2 separate regions of the Homo sapiens genome follow, and region 2 is linked to region 1. Evidence: promoter capture Hi-C in 16 types of primary human blood cells and fetal thymus (Javierre and others, 2016). All regions are on one chromosome and are shown on one strand. The core of a region is centred on a gene start or on the middle of the fragment in contact, and the rest is flanking DNA. Distances in the headings are between cores, read along the strand shown. Region 1 holds the start of TAF4B (TATA-box binding protein associated factor 4b). Region 2 overlaps PSMA8 (proteasome 20S subunit alpha 8).

Evidence for each region. Contacts are between HindIII fragments. The CHiCAGO score rates a contact against its expected background, and 5 or more counts as called.
Region 2: a fragment that was not itself captured here is called in contact with the fragment with the promoter of TAF4B in region 1 in 2 of 17 cell types (activated CD4 T cells and naive CD8 T cells); the score reaches 5.5 in activated CD4 T cells.

Annotation. Positions count from the first base shown.
Region 1 is chr18:26,223,241-26,231,155 of GRCh38, forward strand. TAF4B (TATA-box binding protein associated factor 4b) reads left to right here and starts at 3,205. Exons shown (of 15, transcript NM_005640.3): 1 at 3,205-4,036. The coding sequence starts at 3,694. RefSeq lists enhancers at 2,835-2,904, 2,935-3,034 and a silencer at 3,685-3,844. The HindIII fragment of the contact is 8,704 bases long and covers 1-7,915 here.
Region 2 is chr18:26,172,846-26,180,760 of GRCh38, forward strand. PSMA8 (proteasome 20S subunit alpha 8) reads left to right here. Exons shown (of 7, transcript NM_001025096.2): 5 at 5,985-6,104; 6 at 6,223-6,285. Among named protein-coding and RNA genes, the nearest start is that of PSMA8, 43 kb to the left of the region's middle. The HindIII fragment of the contact is 2,627 bases long and covers 1,615-4,241 here.

The DNA of each region.
Region 1 (7,915 bases), core at 1,955-4,454:
AATAGTTTTGTGTGTAATCTAATTTTTTATGAGTATCTGTTTATTGGTTAATAATTGTTTTTTTCTTTTGAGATGGAGTCTTGCTCTGTCACCTAGGCTGGAGTGCAGTGGGACGATCTCAGCTCACTGCAACCTCTGTCTTTCAGGTTCAAGCGATTCTCCTACCTCAGCCTCCCAATTAGATGGGATTACAGGTGTGTACCACCAAGCCCAGCTAATTTTTGTATTTTTAATAGAGAGGGGGTTTCGCCATGTTGGTCAGGCTGGTCTCAAACTCCTGGCCTCAAGCAATCCTCCTGCTTGAGGCCTCTCAAAGTGCTAGGATTATAGGCAGGAACCACCACATCAGGCATTTGCATATTATAAACAATTATAAGAAAAATGGGTGGCTCACGCCTGTAATCCCAGCACTTTGGGAGTCTGAGACAGGAGGATCACTTGAGTCCAAGAGTTTGAAATCAGCCTTGGCAACATATTGCCGAAATTACTTTTGCACCAACCTAACAGTTAGACCGTTGTCTTTGCAAAACAAACAAACAAGCAAACAAACAAAATTAGCCAGGCATGGTGGTACAGCCTGTGGTCCCCAGCTACTTGGGAGGCTAAGGTGAAAGGATTTCTTGAGCCCAGGAGGTTGAAGCTGCAAGTGAGCCATGATGGCCTCACTGAACTACTCTGGGTGACAGAGACAGGGATACCCTGTTCTCCCTTGCACGACCTCACCCCCACCCAGCCCTGCCCTGCCGAAACACACACACACACACACACACACACACACACACACATACACCAGAGAGAGAGAGAGAGAGGGAAATGCATGAGGTTAACTTTATGAAAAAATATAGTTCCCCAACCAAGTCTCTTTGTAATTTGATGGTGGAGGTTAATTGCCTATCTAAACAAAGTGTGTGAATTGATGGTGGGGGTCTAGTGGAAATTTAGAAAGGGAGAGTTCTATAAACAAACTTTGATGCTTCCGTACCCAAGTATCTATTGAAACATACTATATGGAGGGAAAAAAATCGGGGATAATTTGGCCAGTTAGTGAAGAACATATCTAAGATTCAAATACACTACACCATTTTGCTTCACTGAAAATGTTGCATAGCTTCATTCAATTCATTACCTTAGCAAGTATTTATTAAATGCCTTTTATGCTCAAGGCATTTTGCCAAGGGCACTGTGGGATACATGATTAATCAGACGTTTTGGAGTAATGGAAAGAGATGTACTTTGGCATCATACTGATGAGTTTGAATTCCAGCTTCTTGGAAACATTACTCTTTTAACTGCAGTTTTTAAGTTTGTAAAATGAAGCAGTTAGAAAAAGGAAATGCATCTCTTGGTGACCAGCACACAGGAGGTGCTCAATAAATTGAGTTTTTCTCTCCCCAACTCCACTTTGAGGCATTTGCTAGAAGGTAAGTGATCAGGGAATTCACCATAGAAAGGGAGGGTGATTGGTTTAGGTCATGAGATGGATTTAGACTGGTCAAGAAGTGAGAGACAGTAAAGGTAGTAAGTGTGTGGACTTTACTAGATCTTGTGAGTAGATCTTATCTAAACGTGCCGGCACACGTTTACAGAGAGGGGGAAAAGCAGGAGCTGTAACCATCAGGTTGCCTGCTATTTTAGTCCACTCGGGCTTCTATAATGAAATATCATAAACTGGGTAGCTTATAAAAAGAGAAATTCATGTCCCATAATTCCAGAGGTTGGGAAGTTCAAGATCAAGGCAGATGTGGTATCTGATGAGAGTCTACTTTCTAGACAGCAGTCTTTTTACCATAACCTCACTTGCTGGAAGGGGTGAGGGATCTTTCTGAGGTTTCTTTTTTTAAAAAAATTATTTATTTAATGTATTTAACTAACAAATAATAATTGTATGTATTTATGAGGTATCATGTTACATTTGTATGTGTCGTGAAATAATTAAATCAAGTTAACATATTCATCACTTTAACATGATTTGTCCTGAATGGAATCCCATTCATGAGGGCTCCACCCTTATGATCTAATCACCTTTCAAAGGCCCAACCTTCTAATATTATCAACTCCAGCTTTAGCATTTTAACACTCAGTTGGGGGTATAATCCTAGCACTTTGGGAGGCCCAGGCGGGAGCTCAGGAATTGGAGACCAGCCTGGACAATATAACGAGATCCCGTTTTTGCTAGGCATAGTGCCGCTCCCCTGTGGTTCCAGCTACTCGGGAATCTGAGGTAGGAGGGTAGGATGATCACTTGAGCCCAGGAGGTGGAGGCTGCAATGAGCCAATGGTGCCACTGCACTCCAGCCTGGGTGACAGAGTTAGATCCTGTTTCCAAAACAAAACAAAACAAAACAAAACAAAACAAAACACCACAACATTCAGATCATAGCATCTGCCTACTTGTAAAATCGCCTTTCAGTGCAGTGTTGGTTCCTACAAACATACAATATAATGACTTTAGCTTGAAATTAAGGCATCTTCTCTGACTGCATTACAAACAGGCAAGTTTTTTCATATCGATTCACTCAACACCTTTTATTTATCCAGATAATATCTAGGATCACGCTTAATATCTAAGTGCTAGAATCTAATTATATAGATATCAAAAGGCATTAAGTTTTTCAGAAGACAGACATACAATTTTAATGTTTAGAGGTGATAGAGACACCTATAGCAGCACCAAAGAAGAAACGATTTTCCATTTAAGATTTTAGGCAGTTTAACTCTAAAATATGAAAATAGGCACATCTCACAGACTATAAAACTATACGCCATTTTAATTTTTACAATGTCAATTCTAACTGCGAATTTTAGCAACGCTTCAGTGTGAAGACAGCAGAGAAAAACACTGAAAATGCGTGATTGAATTCTTATTGAGTCACTCTTCTCGGAAATCAGTCCTCCCCATTTTCTCCTTAAAAAATAGAATCCTGGAGATAGTCTAGTGCTGGCTTTTCGAGGAACACACTACAGGGGACACAAGGAGAGGAACACGGATGCCGCAGTTTTCCAAGTGCAGCTTGCCCCTCCCACGTGATAGGTTTCTGGCATCGCCCCTCCTTGCTGGCGATTCTGGGGAAGATTTTAACGCTCCCTGGAGCCGTCCCCAGTGACGTCACGGGCGCGGCTCCGCTCCTTGGCCAATCACGCGGCCGGATCCCGGGGAAACCCGGGGCGGTGGCGGCGGCCTGGGCGCGTGCGCGAGGTCTCCGCGTGGCTATATAAACATGGCTGGCGTGGCCGCGCGGCGGGGCCGTGCCAATCGCGCGTAGGGGGCTGTGGGCACTCGGGGTTCGTAGTTTTGAAATTTCTGGCGGGGGAGCAGCTGCGCAGTTAGGCTCGAGGTGTGAGCGACGACCTTCCGGGAGCCGCAAGTCCAGGCTCCCCCGCAGCGGGACCCGAGCCTGAGGCGCAGGGCTGAGGCAGCGCACGTGTGAGCGCCGCTGAGGAAGCTGCGAGAGGTCGGGCGGGTGTCGCTCCGGGGGCAGCCCAGGCTCGCGCGGACGAGAGGAAGGTCCGGGACGCGCGTGTCCTGCCGTGCAGCGGGCGCCCGTCACTGACTTCGCTGCTGCGGCCCCCGCGCCTCTCCCCAGCGATGCTGTGGAACCCGAACCGCACCGGAGTCGGCTGCCGCGCGCCAAGCCTCCCCTCACCTCTGCTCCCGGAACCGCAGCGCCAAAGCTGCCGCTGAGCCCCTGGGGGATGCCCGCCGGCCTCACCGAACCCGCCGGCGCCGCTCCCCCGGCTGCTGTGAGCGCCTCGGGGACCGTGACCATGGCCCCGGCCGGGGCGCTGCCGGTGCGGGTGGAGAGCACTCCGGTGGCCCTGGGCGCCGTGACTAAGGCTCCTGTCAGCGTCTGCGTGGAGCCCACGGCGTCCCAGCCCCTGCGGTCCCCCGTGGGGACCCTGGTGACCAAAGTGGCTCCGGTCAGCGCCCCTCCTAAAGTCAGCAGCGGCCCTAGGCTGCCTGCTCCTCAGATAGTCGCCGTGAAAGCCCCCAACACCACGACAATCCAGTTTCCTGCTAATTTGCAGCTTCCTCCAGGTATGTTGATAACCCTTTCCAGCCTTGTCTGTCGGTCCAGCTGGCGGCGACGGGAAAATTCGCAGCTCCAGATTGCTCCTAAAAAAACTGAGCCACGGGAACATTTCATAATCTTGACTTTACAGTTAACATATTCTTTTTGTGTCATTACTACATAGTTTTTCTTTTCATATTTAAGGAAAGAATCTTTTCACCTAAGTGATACAGTAAAAAGCTACATCAGCGTATTCGGGGGGGCTTTCAGGCACTGGCTCTTAGGTGGAGGAGATAATATAGCCGAAGTTAATTTCCATGTGGAGGATGGACCGGTTTATACCGTGGATTTCCATACGCTTAGATTATGTAGAAGTGCGTTGTACTTATTTTATTAATTATGAATGAATGAATGAACGAATGAGGTATGGTTTCGCTCTGTCGCCCAGTCTGGAGTGCAGTGACACGATCATGGCTCACCGACGTCGAACTCCTGGGCCCAATCGATCCTCCCGCCTCGGCCTCCCAAAGTGCTGGGATTACAGGCGTGAGCCACCGCGTACGGCCTAACAGTGAAGTTCTTGTGTATTACAACTGAAAGAGATTTTTAAATTTAACCAAGTCAGAATCGGTTTACTGCTTTCTAGTACCAAGTACGAATAATGCTGTTCCTGCACAATCTTTAAATGTCTTATGATTCTAACTTTCAATTAGCAGAACCCCTGACTGGGAACACGTGCCACAGTTGACAAACAGATCAGTCATGCAATTGTTACAGTTGCAATTGAAGCCATGTGTCAACGCTACTGTTAATGAGTCTTTCACTACTTTCTATCCTAGGGCTTTTTACTCTATTGGGCTGTATTTCATGGTTTGTATAAAGGTTTTGCTTTGTGATAATTTACATATTGTAAATATGCTGAATGATTTTGGGGTGTTCAGCCTTTCTTTACTGAAAGTCTCTTGGAGTTTGCTTTCTGTTAATTTTGTTTAGCAGTAATTGGAACTCTGAACTGCAAAGATGGTAAAAAAGGGGAAGCATTGATTCAAAAGATTCTATATCCCCTAATAAAATGACAGGGACCCTTTTTGTATCTAATGTTGTAGTTAGTCATACACGTTGTGGATAGATTTCACTTTTTATGAAGTTCTGTTTCAGTTTTATATGGTATACAAGGTATGTAAAATTGTTAAGGCACTGTTACGGCAGTGTGCAGCACCGAATACATTATTTGGCAGTTCTAAATTGTTATTCTGAGTTGTTATTCTGCATATATGTTTATAAAGTAGTTCTGAATGTGTTAGAATGAAATTACCCCCTAATTTGTTAAACTGTAAATCCTGTCTAGTCACTGAAGTTTGTTTATAAATAGTCAAAAAAAAAAAGTATTAAGAAAGAACTGTCTGAGAGGCTAAGGCACGAGAATCGCTTGAACCCGGGAGGTGGAGGTTGCAGTAAGCCAAGATATCTTGCCACTGCACTCCAGCCCAGGCAACAGAGTGAGACTCTGTTCCTCCCCATCCCTCCCCAACCCCCCAAAGAAAGAACTGTCAAGAGTGAAAATTTGCTGGTAAGTGAGAGTGAATCACTTACTGGAGGATTGGGGCCTTATCATGCTAAGCACTTTTAACAAATTATTTATATTCTTTTATTTGTTGGTCATAATAGGTAGGTAGCAAATAAGGAAAGAGGTCTCTAAGAGTAAATAATTTGTCCAATGCCAGGCAACCCATAGGTGTCGGGGGAGTTTTAGCTCAGGTCTGTTTATTCTTTCCACAACGCTATGCTTATTTTTTTACTTGTATGTGTACGGTATGCCTCATTGAGTGTCAGTACTGAAAGGTGATTCAGAGAACTTTAGATTCCAGTCTTTTATTTTATATACCAAGGAACCAAAACTGAAACTTGGCAGAGTTAAAATAATAGCATACTAGGACCATAGTCTAATTATGTTCCTAGCACTGTATTAAAACATTGCATGCTATTTACCTCTGAGAAACCCATACAAAAGAGAGAAAGAAGATAAGTTGTCTTTAGGAATTGGTCGTTATAGAGGAAGTGGGGATTTGCTTTTGGGAATTTTCTGCTGACGTGTGGCAGAAGGGTGTACTAACTACATTTGTGCTCTTATTGGATAGAATAAGATAACCAATAGTTGAAGAATAAAATGGAAACACTGATTAAAGTAACTTTTTAAAAAGGTTATGAATCTTATACTATTTCTTTTATATCTTTCTTTCTTTCTTTTTTTTTTTTTTTTTTCTTTCTCTGAGACGGAGTGTCACTCTGTTGCCCAGGCTGGGGTGCAGTGGCATAATCTCGGCTCACTGCAACCTCCGCCTCCCGGGTTCAAGCAATTCTCCCGTCTCAGCCTCCCGAGTAGCTGGGATTACAGGCACACGCCACCATGCTCGGCTAAATTTTGTATTTTTAGTAGAGATGGGGTTTCACCATGTTGGCCAGGCTGGTCTCGAACTCCTGACCTCAAGTGATCAGCCTGCTTCGGTCTCTCAGAGTGCTGGGATTACAGGCGTTAGCCACTGCGCTGGCCTGAATCTTGTACTATTTCCTTTGCATACCAAGAATTAGCACTTGATTACACAAGGGTGCTTATATATGTCAGTTCTTCATTTTTCAAGATAATGAATACTTTAAGTATTTGATTCTCTTTACTTCAGAGTTTCATCTATGAACAGAACTGGTTTAAAAAAAAAATATATATATATATACACACACACACACACATATACATATATATGCACCACAGGTTTTTCTAGGGAGCAGGAGCTTGAAATAAAAAGAATGCACAAGAGAATATTTGAGGAAATATTAATAAAAGGTTTTCAGTAATTTCTTCAGTCTTTTGTGAACATGTGGGGTTTTAGGCTGAACTGTGGTTCTTCTTGATATTCTTCATCTTGTCTATCACCTGTTTGAGAATGATAAGCAAGGACTTGATTCCTTCTTTTAGGTCATAAACTGGGATAAATTCTGCATGACAGTCATACTGTACAAAAGTGTGAAAGTTACTTATGAAGCAGTGAGGTCCCTTTTCATCAGCCTGTTTTCATGCTGAGACAGGGCATAGAATTTGCATCTCCTTTCCCAACTTCTTGATCCAGTCCTTGGATAAGTTCTTTGTTTCCACTCTGGCTTTATCAAAGGGATACAGTGTACATGATCATCACTTCCACAGTTGTCACAGTGCTGCTGGGCTTTGTGAAATGAGGGGTATTCTTTTCAGTGTTCACCATACACCATCCACTGTTTGATTTTCAGACTGTAGAGTTGGCGTAAAGTGATAGTGGCCATGGCATTACTCTGTCGGTAGTCAGCCCACAGGAGAAAGTGCTGGTGCTCCTCTCCTGCGGATCTTCCTCAAGGTGAGGTTAGGTTCTCCTGTTACGTGTTTCCATTTGGATGCCGTGCTTTCACTCTCATAGTACTCCCACACTTTGTTTTCTTTTTGATTACAAGGTCCTTTTTGATTACAAGTCCCTGCTTCTGTAATCAGGGACTCTATGTCGCTATTATCTATCCTCAGGGCCTAGTGAGTTGTGCACGAAGGCGCTCAAGTATTTGAATGTAGGCATATATGGAGAGAGTAGGGGGCAATAGGGCTGCAGCCCCTAAGGGATTCTGAGGGTCATCACACATATCAGTGTGTTGAGTTTTGATTTCTTTGCTTATTCTACTTACAAAAGCAGTATATGTTCATGTGAAAATCACTAAAATGTAATTTCCTCTTCAAAGTAATTGACAAACTTGTGGTGTGTTGTTTTGCTTTTTTTTTTTTTTTTTTTTTTTTTGATGGATTTTGCCCTTGTTGCCCAGGCTGGAGTGCAATGGTGCAATCTTGGCTCACCACAACCTTTGCCTCCCGGGTTCAAGCGATTGTCCTGTCT
Region 2 (7,915 bases), core at 1,678-4,177, 51 kb before region 1:
TAATAGCTAAGAAACCCTGAACTTGGGGAATCTACCACTTTTGTAATAGGCAGTGAACAAGCTTCTTCTTTTTCTGCAGAAAGACGTGACCTTATTCCTCAGGGTTGTTGGCCACTAATACAGTCCTGAGGAATAGCCCCATCAAGAGTGGTCAAGGCCATGCGTTCTTGGCACACCCAGAAAGAATGTGCACTCTAATTGTGAACAGTGTGATTCTGTTAAAATTTAAGTCAGATCAGGTCACCTCTCTGTTCAAAATCCCCTCTTGCCTCCCAAGTAAGTCAGAGTAAAAACCAAAGCCCTTACAGTGGTCTAACCTTATCTGGCCCCCACCTCAACTCTCCAACCCGAAGCTTATTAACTCCTCCGTTGCTTTCCTACTCAGCCACACTGGCCTCTTTACTGTTCTTCAGAGGCCAGATGTGTACTTTCCTCAGGGCTTTTAACTTTTGTTCTTCCTTATTGTTTCCTCTGCCCAGAGCTTGCATGATATCTGCATGGCTACCATCCTCACCCTCTGAGTGAAGCCCCTCCTAACTGGCCTTTCTAGCACTGTAGCCCATTCTCAATGCTCTTTATTTCCTATCCTGGCTTTACTTCTCTCATAACAACTAATGTACTGTTTATTTTACATATTTCCTTGTTTACCTTGTTTATTATCTATCTCTCCCCCACTAAGCTTTAAGGTCTATGAGTGCAGGGATTTTTGTCTACTTTTTTTTTTTTTTGAGATGGAGTTTTGCTCTTGTTGCCCGGGCTGGAGTGCAATGGCACGATCTGGGCTCACTGCAACCTCCACCCCCCAGGTTCAAGCGATTCTCCTGCCTCAGCCTCCCAAGTAGCTGGGATTACAGGCATGTGCCACCACGCCTGGCTAATTTTGTATTTTTAGTAGAGATGGGGTTTCTTCATGTTGGTCAGGCTGGTCTCAAACTCCTGACCTCAGGTGATCCACCTGCCTCGGCCTCCCAAAGTGCTGGGATTACAAGTGTGAGCCATCACGCCCGGCCTTTTGTCTACTTTTTATACTGTTGACACACTAGTGCTTAGAATTGAACCTTATATACAAGGTGGTCATACGTTATTTAACAAATAAATGAATACTAGATAATAACATAATGCTGTCTACTTGATTCTCAGCTAGAAATATTCTCTCCCTTTGAACTTTTGAAGCATTAGTAATTCTTACAGCTTTTTAAAATTGTTTCATTTCTTCTGTTGACAATTTAGTAAGGGAAGTTTGTGTTTTAAGCATTCAAGTTTCATTTTACAGCAAACACTAATCCTATATTTTAGAGTGAAAACGTAATATTTATAGCATTCGGATCATGAAATGATGCTTCTAAATGCCTACTTTGACTATAATCGTATTTTACTGATTTTTCAAAATAATATTTTATAGACATTTAGTGGCAGGAATTGAATATGTTCTTGCTTATTAGTTCTAAGATATTGGTATTTAAGTGTGTATCTAAGAAGTTGTACACATTTTTTAAAATATTCTTCCTTTCACTTACAATATAGCTTGTAGATTTGTAGGAATGCCAGTCTGGCCATTAGCACTCAAATTTTATATTCAAAACTTTGTTTCAGTTTACTGTGTATTTCTTGAAAAGCTTGCATTTTTAAAGTTTTTAAATAAAATTAGCTCATAAAGAACATTGATGAAAACTGGCATCTAATATGCTGTGCATTGAAGTGGTTACTTAATTTAAAAGCTATTCTATACTATTTTAAGGAGACCCACCTGCATAGACTTAAGCCCCACCCTGATTAATGATGTTAATGATTAAGGGGCATGTTTTGCTCTTGTCAGTATGGGCCATAATGTTTCAAAATGGTAAGAATGTTAACTACGTCGTATACTTCTGAGCAATGTTTCTCAAAATGCATTTCTTTTCATGTTAACAGGTATTAGGTAAACAAGCTCTCTAGCTAAGTAATTTTGTTAGCTATTTAAAGAAATTTAGTAAGTTTTGTTACCAAAGTACATCTGGATCTGCTAAAAAGCATTTAAATCTTCTAGAAGCAGGTAAAATAGTAGTCCCCAAGATTACTTGAACGTAGAGCCCTTTGATCATAAATCCTTTCTCTACTCTGATGTTTTGTGGGATTCACTTTGGAAAATGCTGCCATAAAAACTAAGAACCTCAGGGCTGAAAAGACTTTAAAAGCTGTTTAATATAATCCTCCAATTTATTGTTTCTGACAACACTTGACCAGTTTTGCCTTCTGTTGTTTATACTTCAAAATAATGGAAATTGTGATTTATTTATTGTGAGTAGAGTTTTTTGCTCATTTCCACATCTCTTTTTCTTAGTGTGGGAGAGCTCATTGAAGATTTACTCTGGAAGTTAGCAAGCCTTCAGATGAGAAAAGCTGCTTTGCACTTGTTAGCAGAGACCTTGTCCTTCCTTAGGGTCACATAGCCTCATGGGAAGATTATTATTTTATAAGATATTAGGAAGTGCCATTGGTATCAGCATTTGTTGAAGGGAAGGGATCAGGATGGGGCAGAGGGAGACATTGGGCTGCATTGTAGTCGCAATAAAGGCTTCAGTTGACACCATGGAGTGCTCTGGATCTGTAGTGGCTCATCAGAGCTGTTCTAACTTGGGGTGAAGGGACTGCACATTGATACTCTTCGTCACTGAGTCAGTGTAGGCTGGCCCTGGAAGAGCACATGACCTTACCTGAGGGAGCTCTTGTTAACCAGGGAACCTTCCCAAGGGAGTTAAGAGCTGAGGGCTGTCTGCCATTACCACTTCCAGTAGCCACAGGAATAAGGTTTTTGTTTCTGGAGGTGTATGGGGCAGTATGTCACAGGATGCACTTCCGAGGTCTGTCAAGTGAGATTGTTTTTATCTCCTAACAACAAAGACCTGATGATGCTTAACACTTAAGATTGATTTTTCTCACATAATGAAAAGTCTGAAAGTAGGCAGATGCTGGTATTTGTCTCTTTTAGTCTTAGTCTTTTTCCATGCTCTCAAGATAGCTGCTAGACCTCTAGCCAATATGTCTGCATTCTAGGCAGTAAAGGTTCCTAGGAGCTTCACCCAGTGACTTCCACCTGTGTATACCTATTTGTAAGAGAAGCTAGGAAGTGACATTTTTCAGTAGTCACATTGCCTAGAGTTCTGTCACAAAGGAAGAATGGATATTAGGGTTGTCAGCTAATAGTCTTTGCTGCAGAAAATCATCATTAATCTGAGGAGGCAGGTAGGAAAAGCATTGCAAAACTACCAGTCATTATTGAAGTGGACTGGGGTGGGTGATGGGGCAAGGGAGGGTGGGGATCTGAGTGTGGCAAGAACAGGATAGATTTTAGAAAACAAGTCAGGTGGGTAAGAGTTAAAGATTTTGACATTAAGAATTGGAAGAAGTGGATAGGAAAGTCACCAGAAATGTGCAGGGTGACTTTAAAGGCCCAGTGAAGTTTTTGGATAAACCACTACCTGAAGCCACTAACTATGTACTTCCTCTCTGGGTAGCAACTAGTTACCAAAAAACAAACAAACAAACCTAGTAGCAAATAGATTTCAAAGTCATGCCAGGCTGAAGGCTTTACCTTTGATCTTGGTGAAATTTCAAGGCCACAAAATTTAATTTAGAAGTTTCAACAGCTACTTATATTAATCCTCTGAAATATAATGGCATAGAAAAATTATATAAAGTAAAAATAATCTTTTGCTAACCAGAATAGTATATTGTTATATAATGTAATATAAATGGTGTGTTTTCATGTTTATGTCCTAAAATCTCCTTTGAGATCTCTTTCCCATAATCATAATACTAAACAGTTGGCCAGGCACAGTGGCTCACACCTGTAATCTCAGCACTTTGGGAGGCTGAGGCAGGCAGATCACCTGAAGTCGGGAGTTTGAGACCAGCCTGGCCAACAGGGTGAAACCCCATCTCTACTAAAAATAAAAATATTAGCTGGGCATGGTGGCAGACACCTATAATCCCAGCTACTCGGGAGGCTGAGGCAGGAGAATTGCCTGAGCCCAGGAGGCAGAGGTTGCAGTGAAACGAAATCACGCCATTGCACTCCAGCCTGGGCGACAGAGTGAGACAGTCTCAAAAAAGAAAATAATAATAATAATAATACTAAACAGTTATAACTGAGACATTCCCCCATTTAATGCCAGTGAAAGGATAGACCTTTGTGTTTGTTCTTTTTACTCTGTAATCATCCTAGGAAAGGGGCATGTGGCAGCATAGTGTATCAAGTTAAAAGCTTGGCTTGTTGATTCAGACCACGGTTTCAAAGCTTAGCTCTTCTGCTTACTCTCTGCATGATCTTGGCCAAGATTACTTGAGTCAGTAATTCACCAACAGCTGATTTTGTCCCACCTAAAAGACATTTGACAATGTCTTTGACAAGAGATATGTTTGGTTGTCACAACTGGGGTGGGAGTTGCTGCTGGCATTTAGTTTGTGGAGGCAGCTAAAAATCCCACAATACACAGGACAGCCCTCACAACAGAGGATTAGCTGGCCCAAAATGTGAACAGTGATGATATTGAGAAAGCCTATTTTAACCTTTCCAAACCTCCATTTCTACATCCAAGAATTGGGGTTAGTAACAGTACCTATTTAATCATTTTTGTGATGGTTAGATGAGATAATCCATGTAAAATGCCTAACCTAGTGCCTGACACATAAGTGTTCTGTTAATATAAAATTTAAAATCTTATTACCATCAGGAGTACTAATCTGGATATTTAGGCTGAATTAAAAGAATATGCTGCCTTCTACCCATAGCCATGCAGCCAGGAAAATCCATTTGCATTTTTCCTTCATCTGATGAAAATGTGTAAAGAACAAAGAAAAGAGGAAAGGAATAGAAGCCCTTCTTGCTTAAGAGTCAAAGATGATAACAAATCAATTAGGTTACCACTATACTTATTCTAAAATCTACAAAAATAGTGCTCAGCCCAACTTAGGTAAATAGCTTTCTTCATGTTGATGTCATTTTTTTCCCCTCTCTTTGCTTTCTTCTTTTTGTGCCATATTGTAAAGTTATAGCTCCTTGCCTCTCCACATCTTTTCAAGTTTCAGCTTTTTAAAATCTTTTCTGAGCCAGTCACAGTGGCTCATGCCTGTAATCTCAGCACTTTGGGAGGCCAAGCTGGGAGGATCACATGAGTCCAGGAGTTCGAGACCCACCTGGGCAACATAGCAAGACCCTATCTCTAAAAAAAATTCTTTTTTAAATTAGCCAAGTGTGGTGCCACGTACCAATAGTCCCAGCTACTTGGGAGTCTGAGGTAGGAAGATACCTTGAGCCCAGAAGGCCAAGGCTACAGTGAGCAGTGATCATACCACTGCACTCCAGCCTGGGCCACAAAGTGAGACCCTGTTTCAAAAGAATATATAAATAAAATAATTTCTGGTTATCAAGGATTTGGGAGACATTATATTAATAGAAAGTGTTAGCCAGGACAAAGCATTGGTATATTTAAAAGAAAAAGTTGGCCAGATGTTGTGGCTCACGCCTGTAATCCCAACACTTTGAGAGGCTGAGACAGGAGGCTCACTTGAGGCCAGGAGTTTGAGAACAGCCTGGGCAACATAGCAAGACTACCAAAAAAATAATCAGCTGAGTGTGGTGATGCATACCTGTAGTCCCAGCTACTCAGGAGGTTCAGGTGGGAAAATCACTTAAGCCCAGAAGATCAAAGCTGCAGTGAGCTATAATTGTGCCACTACTGCACTCCAGCCTGGGCAACAGAGTGAGATCCCATCTCTAAAACAAACAAAAAAAGGAAAATAAAAACCATGCCACCATTACAGACTATTCTGATAGTAACCAAATGAGCTACTGAAATGTTTGCTATGTTTTCAAATCTGTAATTTTCATTTGGTAATTTTATTAAGGTATACTGGAGTAAACTCCAAACCTCTAAACTTTACTTAGTAACCATAAATTCATTCCTACTGCAATGATATTAATAAATTAACTTTTATTTTTCAAGGCAAATGCAATAGGCCGAAGTGCTAAAACTGTTCGAGAATTTCTAGAAAAGAATTACACAGAAGATGCCATAGCAAGTGACAGTGAAGCTATCAAGTTAGCAATAAAAGCTTTGCTAGAAGTAAGTGATCTAATAAAGCATATTCAGGAAATCATGAATTTTTTTTCCTCATCCATTTTTGTTTATTAAACACAAAATTTGCTGAAATAATTCTAATAGTGTACTTGTTCTACATTAGGTTGTCCAGTCTGGTGGAAAAAACATTGAACTTGCTATAATAAGAAGAAATCAACCTTTGAAGGTAAGTCATTAACCAAAGAGGAAAAAGTATCTGTAGTATAAAGTATTTTGACAAAAGTTAAAAAGTTGTTGGCCTCTAGGCTTCCGATATAATGTTATCCTTCATTAATGTCAAATAACCTCCACTCATTTCTGACCGTCTACCGGTTTTTTGTTTGTTTTTTGTGTTTTTTTTTTTTTTTTAAATAGAGACGGGATTTCACCACATTGCCCAGGCTGGCCTCTAACTCCTAGAATCAAGCGATCAGCCCGCCTTGGCCTCCAGTGCTGGGATTACAACTGTGAGCCACCGCAGTCGTCCTGTCTACTGATTTTTATGTATTTCCATTACTTTACATTTGAAAGTGCCTTGAGCGTCTTGTGAGACTTAAACTTTAATACGTAGCACGATAACCTTTCCATATTTCTTTGTGGCAAGTCTCATGTTATTATATGTATAACGTCTGTCAGCCGTTATGGGTTAAAACTGCTGGACTACAAAATAAAATGTTCAGGATATTGTGATAGAGGACCCACTGGCTAAAGAGCATTTGAAATGTAGTTCACTATTGTTCATTAGGTAGAACCAACTGTACAACATAGTTTGCCAGCTAGCTCTCTTTAGCTGAGATTGTAAAAAAGCACTCAAAATTTGGGAAACTATATAAGAAATATACTTAAAGGATTGTTTTATACTCAAATATGGCAGTGTACGCCTGTAATCCCAGCTACTCGAGAGACTGAGGTGGGAGGATCACTTGAGGTCAGGAGTTCAAGACCAGCCTTGGCAAGGTAACAAGACCCCCATCTCTATGAAAAAAAAAAATTAAAAATTAAATTAAAAAAAAAAAAAGGATTGTTGCCAGATGCGGTGGCTCACACCTGTAATCCCAGCACTCTGGGAGGCTGAGGCGGATGGATCACTTGAGGTCAGGAGTTCAAGACTAGCCTGGCCAACATAGTGAAACCCCGTCTCTACTAAAAATACAAAAAAAATAGCTGGGCGTGGTGGCAGACGCCTGTGATCCCAGCTGCTTGGAAGGCTGAGGCAGGAGAATCACTTCAACCCGGGAGGCGGAAGTTGCAGTGAGCTGAGATTATGCCAGTGATCTGGGCAACAGACCAAGACTCCATCTCAAAAAAAATTATTTTGAAGATTGTTTTACATATATCTTTTCTTTGGTTTTAAGGAAAATATTTCAAGTAGTGTTAAAATTAGTGCCATCTGGAGCACTGGGGTTTTTTGTTTGTTTGTTTCTGTTTTTGTTTTTGTCATCATGGTTGCTTTGACATCAATTTCCTACCCTTTATTATTCAACTAACAGATGGGATATGAGGATAAGACAGCAGCAAAGTTTCAATAAATAAGAGAAATGGGGACAAGACAGTGGAGCTTGCCCCTGCAGAGCCCCACATAAATTACAGAGTGCTGAGCACAGAGTGTGGAAATGGGTATTATCCAGGTTTTTGTCACCCCTGCTGCTAAGAGCCCAGGGACAGATGCAGCAACACCACAAGGGCACAGAAACCACTGAGGCCAGAGTTTGCCTCTTCTGCTCCATAATATACCTATGCATATAAAAATAGACACACACACACACACACACACACACACACACACAGAGTTATATGCATATTTTTGCTTTTGAGTG